Linked DNA regions of Homo sapiens: region 1 is linked to region 2. The links are contacts of gene promoters, found by promoter capture Hi-C in human tissues and cell types (Jung and others, 2019). All regions are on one chromosome and are shown on one strand. Each heading gives the region's core, a stretch centred on a gene start or on the middle of the fragment in contact. The rest is flanking DNA. Distances are from core to core; before and after follow the strand shown.

Region 1 (5,133 bases), core at 1,884-4,383, 1.3 Mb after region 2:
ACCGGGCTAGGGGACCCCGCAGCGGGCCGGGAGCAGAGCCCCCGGTAGCCTCAGGGGAGAGCTTTGCTACGGGGGGTTTCCCGCACCGAGGCTCCCTAGCCCCGCAGAGCCAGCCCCCCGCAAAGGGGAAATGTGCCGGCACACCAGCGGTCCTCGGCGCCGTTTGGGGTGCGTGGCGGGCGCGGGGGGCGGCGGCCGGGCCAGCGGGCCGCCCGGCGGGGAAGCCCAGGGAGCCAGGCAGCGGCCCAGGGCGGCGGCGGGGAGCAGGAAGGCCCGGGCCGGGGGGAAAGGTCGGATTTGCTCGGCGGAAGAAACACAGATGGCGGCGGCGCAGCGCCATTCCGGGCCGGGAGCAGGCAGCCAGCAGCCCTGTCCTCACCGCGGTCCGCCCGCCGCCGCTAAATACCCGGATGCGCCGCCCAAGCGCCAGACGCGGAGCTGGGAAAAGGGAGGCAGAGGAGGCGGAGGCAGAGGCAGAGGCAGAGGCAGAGCCCGAGCCCGGTGCCGAGACCAAGCGACAGACCGGCGGGGCTGGGCCTCGCAAAGCCGGCTCGGCGAGCTCTCCCGACACCCGAGCCGGGGAGGAAAAGCAGCGACTCCTCGCTCGCATCCCCGGGAGCCGCACTCCAGACTGGCCCGGTAGTCAGGGGCTCAGGAGCAGATCCCGAGGCAGGCTTTGCTCAGCCTCCGACGAGGGCTGGCCCTTTGGAAGGCGCCTTCAACAGCCGGACCAGACAGGCCACCATGACCGAGAATTCCACGTCCGCCCCTGCGGCCAAGCCCAAGCGGGCCAAGGCCTCCAAGAAGTCCACAGACCACCCCAAGTATTCAGACATGATCGTGGCTGCCATCCAGGCCGAGAAGAACCGCGCTGGCTCCTCGCGCCAGTCCATTCAGAAGTATATCAAGAGCCACTACAAGGTGGGTGAGAACGCTGACTCGCAGATCAAGTTGTCCATCAAGCGCCTGGTCACCACCGGTGTCCTCAAGCAGACCAAAGGGGTGGGGGCCTCGGGGTCCTTCCGGCTAGCCAAGAGCGACGAACCCAAGAAGTCAGTGGCCTTCAAGAAGACCAAGAAGGAAATCAAGAAGGTAGCCACGCCAAAGAAGGCATCCAAGCCCAAGAAGGCTGCCTCCAAAGCCCCAACCAAGAAACCCAAAGCCACCCCGGTCAAGAAGGCCAAGAAGAAGCTGGCTGCCACGCCCAAGAAAGCCAAAAAACCCAAGACTGTCAAAGCCAAGCCGGTCAAGGCATCCAAGCCCAAAAAGGCCAAACCAGTGAAACCCAAAGCAAAGTCCAGTGCCAAGAGGGCCGGCAAGAAGAAGTGACAATGAAGTCTTTTCTTGCGGACACTCCCTCCTGTCTCCTATTTTCTGTAAATAATTTTCTCCTTTTTTCTCTCTTGATGCTCACCACCACCTTTTGCCCCCTTCTGTTCTGACTTTATAAGAGACAGGATTTGGATTCTTCAGAAATTACAGAATAATTCATTTTTCCTTAACCAGTTGTGCAAGGACAGCAACAACCAATCTAATGATGAGAATGTACTTATATTTTGTTTTGCTATTAACCTACTTACGGGGTTAGGGATTTGCGGGGGGGGCTTGTGTGTTTTGTTGGCTTGTTTGCCATGAAGGTAGATGTGGGTGGGGAGAAGACACAAGGCAGTTTGTTCTGGCTAGATGAGAGGGAACCCAGGAATTGTGAGGTTAGCAGGAATATCTTTAGGGTGAGTGAGTTTTCTTTGAGTTGGGCACCCGTTGTGAGAGTTTCAGAACCTTTGGCCAGCAGGAGAGAGGTGGTAGGGAGCAGCCAGCCGGCAAAGGAAGGAGGGGGAAAAAAACCGCCACCGGGCTGACTTCCACCTCCCAGTGGTGAGCAGTGGGGGCCCAAACCCAGTTTCCTTCTCATTTTTGTTAGTTTGCGCTTTCGGCCTCCCTATTTTCTTAGGGAAGGGGAGTGGGGTCCAAGTGACAGCTGGATGGGAGAAGCCATAGTTTCTCCCAGTCAGCTAGGATGTAGCCATTGGGGGATCTTTGTGGCTTCAGCAAATTCTCTTGTTAAACCGGAGTGAAAACTTCAGGGGAAGGGTGGGGAGTCAGCCAAGTGCCTCAGTGTGCCCTGTTGAAACTTAGGTTTTTCCACGCAATCGATGGATTGTGTCCTAGGAAGACTTTTCTTTTCCTCTGGATTTTTGTTCCTCCTGTACAAGAGGTGTCTTTGCTTGGTTTGGTGGGGCTGCGGCCACTTAAAACCTCCCGATCTCTTTTTGAGTCCTTTATTATAAGTAGTTGTAGCTGCGGGAGGGGGAGGGGGAGTGGGCGGGCAGTGGATAGTAAGACTTACTGCAGTCGATTTGGGATTTGCTAAGTAGTTTTACAGAGCTAGATCTGTGTGCATGTGTGTGTTTGTGTATATATACATATCTAGGGCTAGTACTTAGTTTCACACCCGGGAGCTGGGAGAAAAAACCTGTACAGTTGTCTTTCTCTTATTTTTAATAAAATAGAAAAATCGCGCACTTGCGCGTCCCCCCCCCACCCCCTTTTTTAAACAAGTGTTACTTGTGCCGGGAAAATTTTGCTGTCTTTGTAATTTTAAAACTTTAAAATAAATTGGAAAAGGGAGAAACTGAGCGGTGTATTTTTCCTCACTTTGAAGACTGGAGAATGAATGCGGAGCGGTTAGGCGGGCAGGCAGTGGGGACATCTGGGGCGTTTGCACCTGAGAATGGCGGGGGAGGGTTCAGGAGCTGGACAGAAGCCAGGAATCCTTAGTCCCGGAGGCTGCGGAACGTGCCTTAGCCGGCTTCTAGGCTTCTGCCTTTGGGGTCCAGAGGGTACCCCATTTCCGGCCGAGAGGTGAGTACGTGGGAATGCGGTGGGGAGTCTGGTGGGCTTGGCCCTGACGCGACTTCCTCCGCCCCCTTCCCTCCCCTCTGCCATCCGGACTTCGGCAGTCTCAACTTACAAGTCAAGCCTCTCGGTCCCTGGCGGATCCCGCCAGGCCCCGCCCACCCGTCCTAGGCCCGCCTCCCCGCCTTTTTAAGCGAGCCCCCCTAGCTCCGATTGGCTGCTGGAGCCCGGCCCCCGGCCACGCGACCAGGCTGCGTCCGCGATGCGCACGGCTCCCAGGCAGGCAGGCGCGCTCGGGCGAGGTAGGAGCGATGTGGCCTGGGAACGCCTGGCGCGCCGCACTCTTCTGGGTGCCCCGCGGCCGCCGCGCACAGTCAGCGCTGGCCCAGCTGCGTGGCATTCTGGAGGGGGAGCTGGAAGGCATCCGCGGAGCTGGCACTTGGAAGAGTGAGCGGGTCATCACGTCCCGTCAGGGGCCGCACATCCGCGTGGACGGCGTCTCCGGAGGTAACGCTCCGTTCCGGGAGTCGTTCCAAGACCTTTCCCGAGCTTGCGCTGGAATGGAGGTCCTGGAGGTGGGGGTGGGCGGCTCCTACACTCTTAGCTACTGTTCCCCTTCGCATCTCTCAGGGCGACTTTATGGCTTCCTAATATTGACTCTTGCCTGGTTAAACCCTTTTGACGGAGGGAGGCGATTTGCCCAGCAAGAAAACCCGCATTTCTTGAGCGGCTCCTTTGTGAAGGTCTCTACCAATTGTTGCTGCACGTGAACTCCTGCTAACTTCTAGACGCAGGAATGACTAATTCCACTTTACAAACGAAGAGGCTGAAATCCACAGATGTGAAATGGCTTGCCCAAAAGCCCCCAGCTAGCTGCAGGCAGCGCTGGAATATTGGAGCTGGAACATTGCCTGACTGGCCAGAGAGGACAGCTTGCTGGGTAAACTCATAGCAAGCAAGGGGTCCCAGGGCTGCCACAGAAATCACATGATGAGTTGGCCCTGCCAGGTCTCCCTCATTTCTTTCTTTCCTTTTTTTTTTCTGAGATGGAGTCTCGTCTTGCTCTGTCGCCCAGGCTGGAGTGCAGTGGCGAGATCTCGGTTCACTGCAACCTCTGCCTCCCGGGTTCAAGCGATTTTCATGCCTCAGCCTCCCAAGTAGCTGGGACTACAGGCACGTGCCAGCACACCCGGCTAATTTTTGTATTTTTAGTGGAGACTGGGTTTCACCATGTTGGCCAGGCTGGTCTCGAACTCCTGACCTCAAGTGATCCTCCCGCCTCAGCCTCCCAAAGTGTTGGGATTACAGGCGTGAGCCACCACTCCCAGCCCTCCCTCATTTCACTCTAACCAGTGGTTACACCTGACTTATTCGTGTCAGGCCTCAGGTGAGTGGTAATCATCAACAAGCTCCCAAAGCTGCCTTCTGCCCAGGAAATAGGCATAGAACCCTTGGTGCTGTTGCACTCATTTGTAAAACAGAGGTCCCAGGTAATCCCTTCTCTCCCTCAGGGGAAGCTTAGAGCCGGTCAAAAGATGGGAAATTAGGAGACCCAAGTTCTCATCCTGTTTTTGCCTTTCCCAGGCTGTGTGAACTTTCCCCTCTGGCTGTTTGCTCCTAAGGTCAGCTGTGTTCACTCTGGGCTTTAGAATTCGGGGACTGGTATCTCAGGCACCTACCTTTGGGGGTGTGATTCTGGCAGCAAAGTAAACTGTGGAGTTCCAGGACTGCAGCAGGCGTCTGATCCAGCCCTCTTCTTTAACCCTCAAGGAAACCAAGGGGTCAGATAAGGAGTCAGTGGTGGTCTTCAGGCACAGGAGAAGCCTGTGAGGAAGGGCTGAGTTCCTCCTTGGGTAGAATGTGATTCAAAGCCAGAGTTTAGGCTGGGCACAGTGGCTTGTGCCTGAAATCGTAGCACTTTGGGAGGCCAAGGCAGGAGGATTGCTTGAGGCTAGGAGTTCGAGACCAGCACGGACAACATAATGAGACCCCATCTCTACAAAAAATAAAAAAATTTAATCGGGCATGGTGGCACGCACCTGTAGTCCCAGCTACTCAGGAGGTTAAGTGGGAGGATTGCTTGAGCCTGGGAGGTTGGGGCTACAGTGAACCATGATTGCACCACTGTACTCCAACCTGGGCGACAGAGCTAGACCCTGTCTCAAAAAAAAAAAAGTTTAAACTTCTTGCTCTTCAAGATGTGTAGCACTGACGCTCCTTCTGTAGCTGTTGAATTTGGTGCCTCCTCAATGGTGACTCCAGGTCTGTTTCCTTTCT
Region 2 (4,795 bases), core at 188-2,687:
CACCAAAAATATAAAAAAATTAGCCGGGTGTGGTGGTGCTTGCCTGTAATCCCAGCTACTGGGGAGGCTGAGGCAGGAGAATCGCTTGAACTAGAGAGGCGGAGGTTGCAGTGAGCTGACCTCGTGCCATTGCACTCCAGCCTGGGCGACAGAGTGAGACTCCGTCTTAAAAAAAAAAAAAAGCGAAATACCCTTTTTCGTCCATTCCTCCCATACCTACTGGCCAATCAAGGTGTGTGGTTCGTGTGGGGAAGGTCCCAGCTTCCGCAGGTGAGCTCTGGCACCGGCCTTACCTGCACTGATGCACCTGGCCCTTCTGGTCAGTTAGGATGAAGTAGTGGCCATTCCAGGCCTGTCGGTCCTTGTCCAGAGTGACGTGGGCGATGGTGGTGTTGTACTGGACACGGAGCCCCAGCGTGTCCGCGAAGTCACCCAGGTAGCGCACCATGTCGCGGGCGTCGGGGAAGTAGGCACGCGAGTAGTGTCTGAAGAGCAGCCGGGGGTCGTGGCTGAGCAGAGAGTTCCAGTCGTGGCGGAGGTTGAACTCGGCGTTAGCCTTGCCCGTGTACCGCTTGTTGATGCTGATGAGCTTGCGGTGCCGCGGGTAGCGTGTGAAGAAGCTGCCGGGCCGCGGGGCCCGCTCGAACACTGCGTAGTCGCGTCCAGCGCGCTGCAGGAAGTAGGCCATCTGCAGGCCCGCGGGCCCAGCGCCCAGCACGCAGTAGTCCCGGCGCGGGGGCACCGACAGCGCTGGGTGCAGGGCGATGGCCAGGAGCAGCCCCGGGGGACCCCACAACGGGGCCGCAGCGGAGAGGCCCATCCTGCAGCAGATCAGAGGGGTAAGGCCTCGCACCCGGCCCGGCGGCTGGGAGACACGAGGCCCAGAAAGAGGCGGGGCCTGCGGGAACTCTCACTGCAATCTGGGTCACGGCCAGGCCCAGAAGCCGTCCTCAGAGCTCATTTGCCCGGACTCCACCGTTTCAAGCTGGGACTTGGGGCTCCCCGGAATCCCGAGCCCCTCCATCTTATCTCCCTCAGGGTCTCCTTCCTCAGGGGCACCGGCTCCCCGCTTATGATTGTAGTAACCTCCACCCTGGGGAAGGAGAGCGTACTCCCCAATTTTCCCCTAATTTGAGGGTGCCCAACACCCCTTTGAACCACCCTCCAGGTTGGACCTTCCAGAGGCCTTGGCCCCTCTCCAGCGACCGGGTGGGAGCCTGAAGTGGGTGTGGCCTGCGTGCGCCCCGCCCCCTGCCAGGGTCCGCGCGCCCCAGGCTCTTCGGCCACGTGACAGGGATGCCGCGCACACCTGCCGCCCGCCCGCGTGCGCTTCAGGAGCCGCCAGGTCCCTACGCCCGCAGCTCCGGCCTCCCCGCCTCCGACCGAACCCTGAGAAACGCGCGAACCTCCCAGCCGCTCCGGCTGCAACCCGTGGTCTAATGAGGCCGCGCTTGGCTCGCTTGCTCCGCGGCGGCTCCGCCCCTCGCGCCCGGACCAATGGCAGGGGGCGGGGTCACGTGCGCGGCGCGCGGCACGCCGGGACCAGCTGGCAGGCTGCCTGCTCCGGCCCAGCGCGGGAGAGGCGCGCGCGTGCTGCGTTCGCTGCTCCGGGGGCTGGTAGAGGGGCCTGGGGCTAGCGCGCACCCGCGAGGGTGGAAGGTCTGGAGATCCGGGATGGGGAACTGGGTCCTTCGTTTTAAAAGGTGCCTCTCTACACGGAGGGAGGGGAGCACGTGATTTTTGGAGCTAATCCTAGCTCTCATATTCCATGAATGTAGCCAAACGCTAAAACTAGTTGGCCTACCCAGTTTTGTGGGACTGGAAACCAGCGTGGTGGAGCCAGGACCGATAAGCCAATTAACAAGCGTTTGCTACAGTGACTCAGTGTACTGCTTACCAAGTAACATACACGACTGTCCTAATCTTCCACCAAATAGGAGAGGTGGGCAAGGCATTGTTTCCGACATTTGGTAGCTGACTGGTCAAATGGAGACATAGGGATGAAGGGATATGTTTACAATCACAGGAAGTGGAGCCTGGAATTAAAACTCAGTGGAGGCAAGATAAATGGCAGGAGGAAGATAACGTGAACTGGATGATGAAGGTTGGCTTCCCAGGGGTGGCAAGTGGCCCCTGCATGAGATTTACATGGGGAGAAATACGAAGTCAGTGTAGGAACCTTCAAAGTCCAGTGAAATGGGGCTGAGTGTTCTTGGGGGAAGGGCAGGTGGAAAGAACTGCGAGCCTGCAGATTTGCATGGCTGGAGATTCTTTGAATTAAAAATCGTAGCTGGGGACTCCTTAGAAAAATTTTCCTGACCTCTCAGGCCTACAAGTACCTACCAAAGAATGTCATTTACTTTTTCTTTTTTTTTTTTTTTTGAGATGGAGTCTCACTCTGTCGCCCAGGCTGGAGTGCAGTGGCGTGATCTCGGCTCACTGCAAGCTCCACCTCCCAGGTTCACGCCATTTTTCTGCCCCAGCCTCCCTAGTAGCTGGGACTACAGGTGCCCGCCACCACACCCGGCTAATTTTTTGTATTTTTAGTAGAGACAGGGTTTCACTGTGTTAGCCAGGATGGTCTCGATCTCCTGACCTCGTGATCCGCCCGCCTCGGCCTCCCAAAGTGCTGGGATTACAGGCGTGAGCCACCGCGCCTGGCCGAATGTCATTTACTTTCTTCAGTCTGTGTCAACATCAGAGAAAAGCTCCCTCAGAGCAGAAATTGTCCAGTATCTGACATACGGAAGTTTAAGCATTTGTTGAATAAGCATTGCAACCAGAGAGGTCAGGCAGAATACTTTGCCAAAAATAAAGTAGGGATGTCTTATTTCTTCTTTTTGAGACAGAGTCTCACTGTCACCCAGGCTGGAGTGCAGTGACACAATCATGGCTCACTGCAGCCCTGACCTTCCAGGCTCAAGCGATCCTGCTTCAGCCTCCCAAAGTGCTAGGGATTACAAGTGTGTGCCATGGCCCCTGGCCAATTTTTCAAAAAAATTTTTGGGGGCATATGTGTATATATTTATGGGGCATATGAGATGTTTTGATAGTCATGCAATTTGGGGATGTCTGTTTCTTAGTGGTTGTGAAGATTATGAGAATGGGTGCTGGCAAACAAGTTCCTAAAATAATTGCTGGTCTTATGTGGTGAATACAGTAGTGGGAAATTAAACAGAATTCGTCAAGTATGGTAGGGCCCTACGAGTAGGCTGAACCTAGATTGTAAGCAACAGGATGCTACTGGGAGTTTCTGAATGTAGGATTACTGCAGCAGTCAACTTGGTAGCCCCATGCAGGACAGATAAAAGCAGTGGACAGCTACTCGGGAGGCTGAGGCAGGAGAATGGCGTGAACCCAGGAGGCGGAGCTTACAGTGCCTGAGATTGCGCCACTGCACTCCAGCCTGGGCAACAGAGCAAGACTCCGTCTCAAAAAAAAAAAAAAAAAAAAAAAAGGCAGTGGAAACTGATGCAAAGTATTTTCAGGGAATGAGCTTGAGTCACTTCCACTTGCTTCTGTTAATCCTGTTGGACAGGGCCATGGTTTGCAAGAGGCAATTTGGTGAATACTGGTCCAACCTGGAAACCCCCGGCACTAGTCACACCACTTTAATCTGTTTTTTAACACTCTGTATTCACATTGAAAACTCCCCAAGTACACTTTTTCTCTCCACTGCTTCTAACACAGTTCAAGAAACCTTTTGCTTGCTGAGGTTCGATTCATTAAAATTAATTTTGTGTTTTTTCAAGCTACTTTAAAAAAAAAACCTGTAACTTTAGAAATGCTGAGCTTTTTTTGAGAGTCTCTGTAATCCAAATTGGAGTGCAGTGGTGTGATCTCAGTTCACTGCAACCTCCGCCTCCTGGGTTCGAGTGAATCTCCAGCCTCAGCCTCCCAAGTAGCTGGAATTACAGGCGTGTGCCACCATGCCTGGCTGTTTTGTATTTTTAGTAGAGACGGGGTTTTGCTATGTTGCTCAGGCTGGTTTTGAACTCCTGACCTCAAGTGATCCACCCACCTCGGCCTCCCAAAGTGCTGGGATTACAGGCATGAGCCACTGCACCTGGCCTTTTTTTTTTTGATAAAGGGTCTCCTTCTGTCACTTAGGCTGGAGTGCAGTGGTGTGATCATAGCTCACTGCAGCCTTGAACTCCTGGGCTCAAGCAATCCTCCCACCTCAGCCTCCTGAGTAGCTGGGACCACAGGTGGAAGCATCATGACTGGCTAATAATTTATTTTTTTGCAGAGACAGGCCCTGGTCTCCCTGTGTTGCCCAGGCTGGTCTCAAACTTCTAGGCTAAAGTGATCCTTCTGCCTCAGCCTCTCAAAGTGTTGGGATTAGAGGTTTGAGCCACCATGCCTGTTTCCTCACCTCTACAATGGTACTACTCCTGCCAGCATCACAGTTCTGTATGAGGCTTAGATACTACAGAAAGCTCAGCATTAATACCTGGCAGGGTAATTACTCCATCAAGTGTCCAGAACAGAACAGTGTCCACTTACATAGTTTACATAGCCTCGGCTGGGTGCGGTGGCTCACGCCTGTAATCTCAGCACTTTGGGAGGCCAAGGCGGGTAGATCACCTGAGGTCAGGAGTTCGAGACCATCCTGACCCATATGGCGAAACCCCGTCTCTACTAAAAATACAAAAATTAGCCAGGCATGGTGGTGCATGCCTGTAATCCCAGCTACTGGGGGGCTGAGGCAGGAGGATCGCTTGAACCTGGGAGGTGGAGGTTGCAGTGAGCCGAGATCATGCTACTGCACTCCAGCCTGGGCAACAAAGTGAGA

The links. The method cuts DNA at HindIII sites, captures the fragments that hold promoters and counts their contacts. A contact is called where the count stands out against the background at its distance.
Region 1: the fragment with the promoter of GCAT here is called in contact with the fragment with the promoter of FOXRED2 in region 2 in 1 of the 25 tissues and cell types used here (aorta).

The regions. Positions count from the first base shown.
Region 1 is chr22:37,804,801-37,809,933 of GRCh38, forward strand. It overlaps GCAT (glycine C-acetyltransferase), which reads left to right and starts at 3,134. Exons shown (of 9, transcript NM_014291.4): 1 at 3,134-3,363. The coding sequence starts at 3,168. H1-0 (H1.0 linker histone) reads left to right here and starts at 429. Exons shown (of 1, transcript NM_005318.4): 1 at 429-2,632. The coding sequence starts at 745. The coding sequence ends at 1,329. RefSeq lists silencers at 515-594, 2,949-3,238 and an enhancer at 825-1,520. The HindIII fragment of the contact is 28,064 bases long and covers 1-4,949 here.
Region 2 is chr22:36,505,603-36,510,397 of GRCh38, forward strand. FOXRED2 (FAD dependent oxidoreductase domain containing 2) reads right to left here and starts at 1,438. Exons shown (of 9, transcript NM_001102371.2): 1 at 1,407-1,438; 2 at 294-821. The coding sequence starts at 820. RefSeq lists a silencer at 1,185-1,684. The HindIII fragment of the contact is 18,149 bases long and covers 1-4,795 here.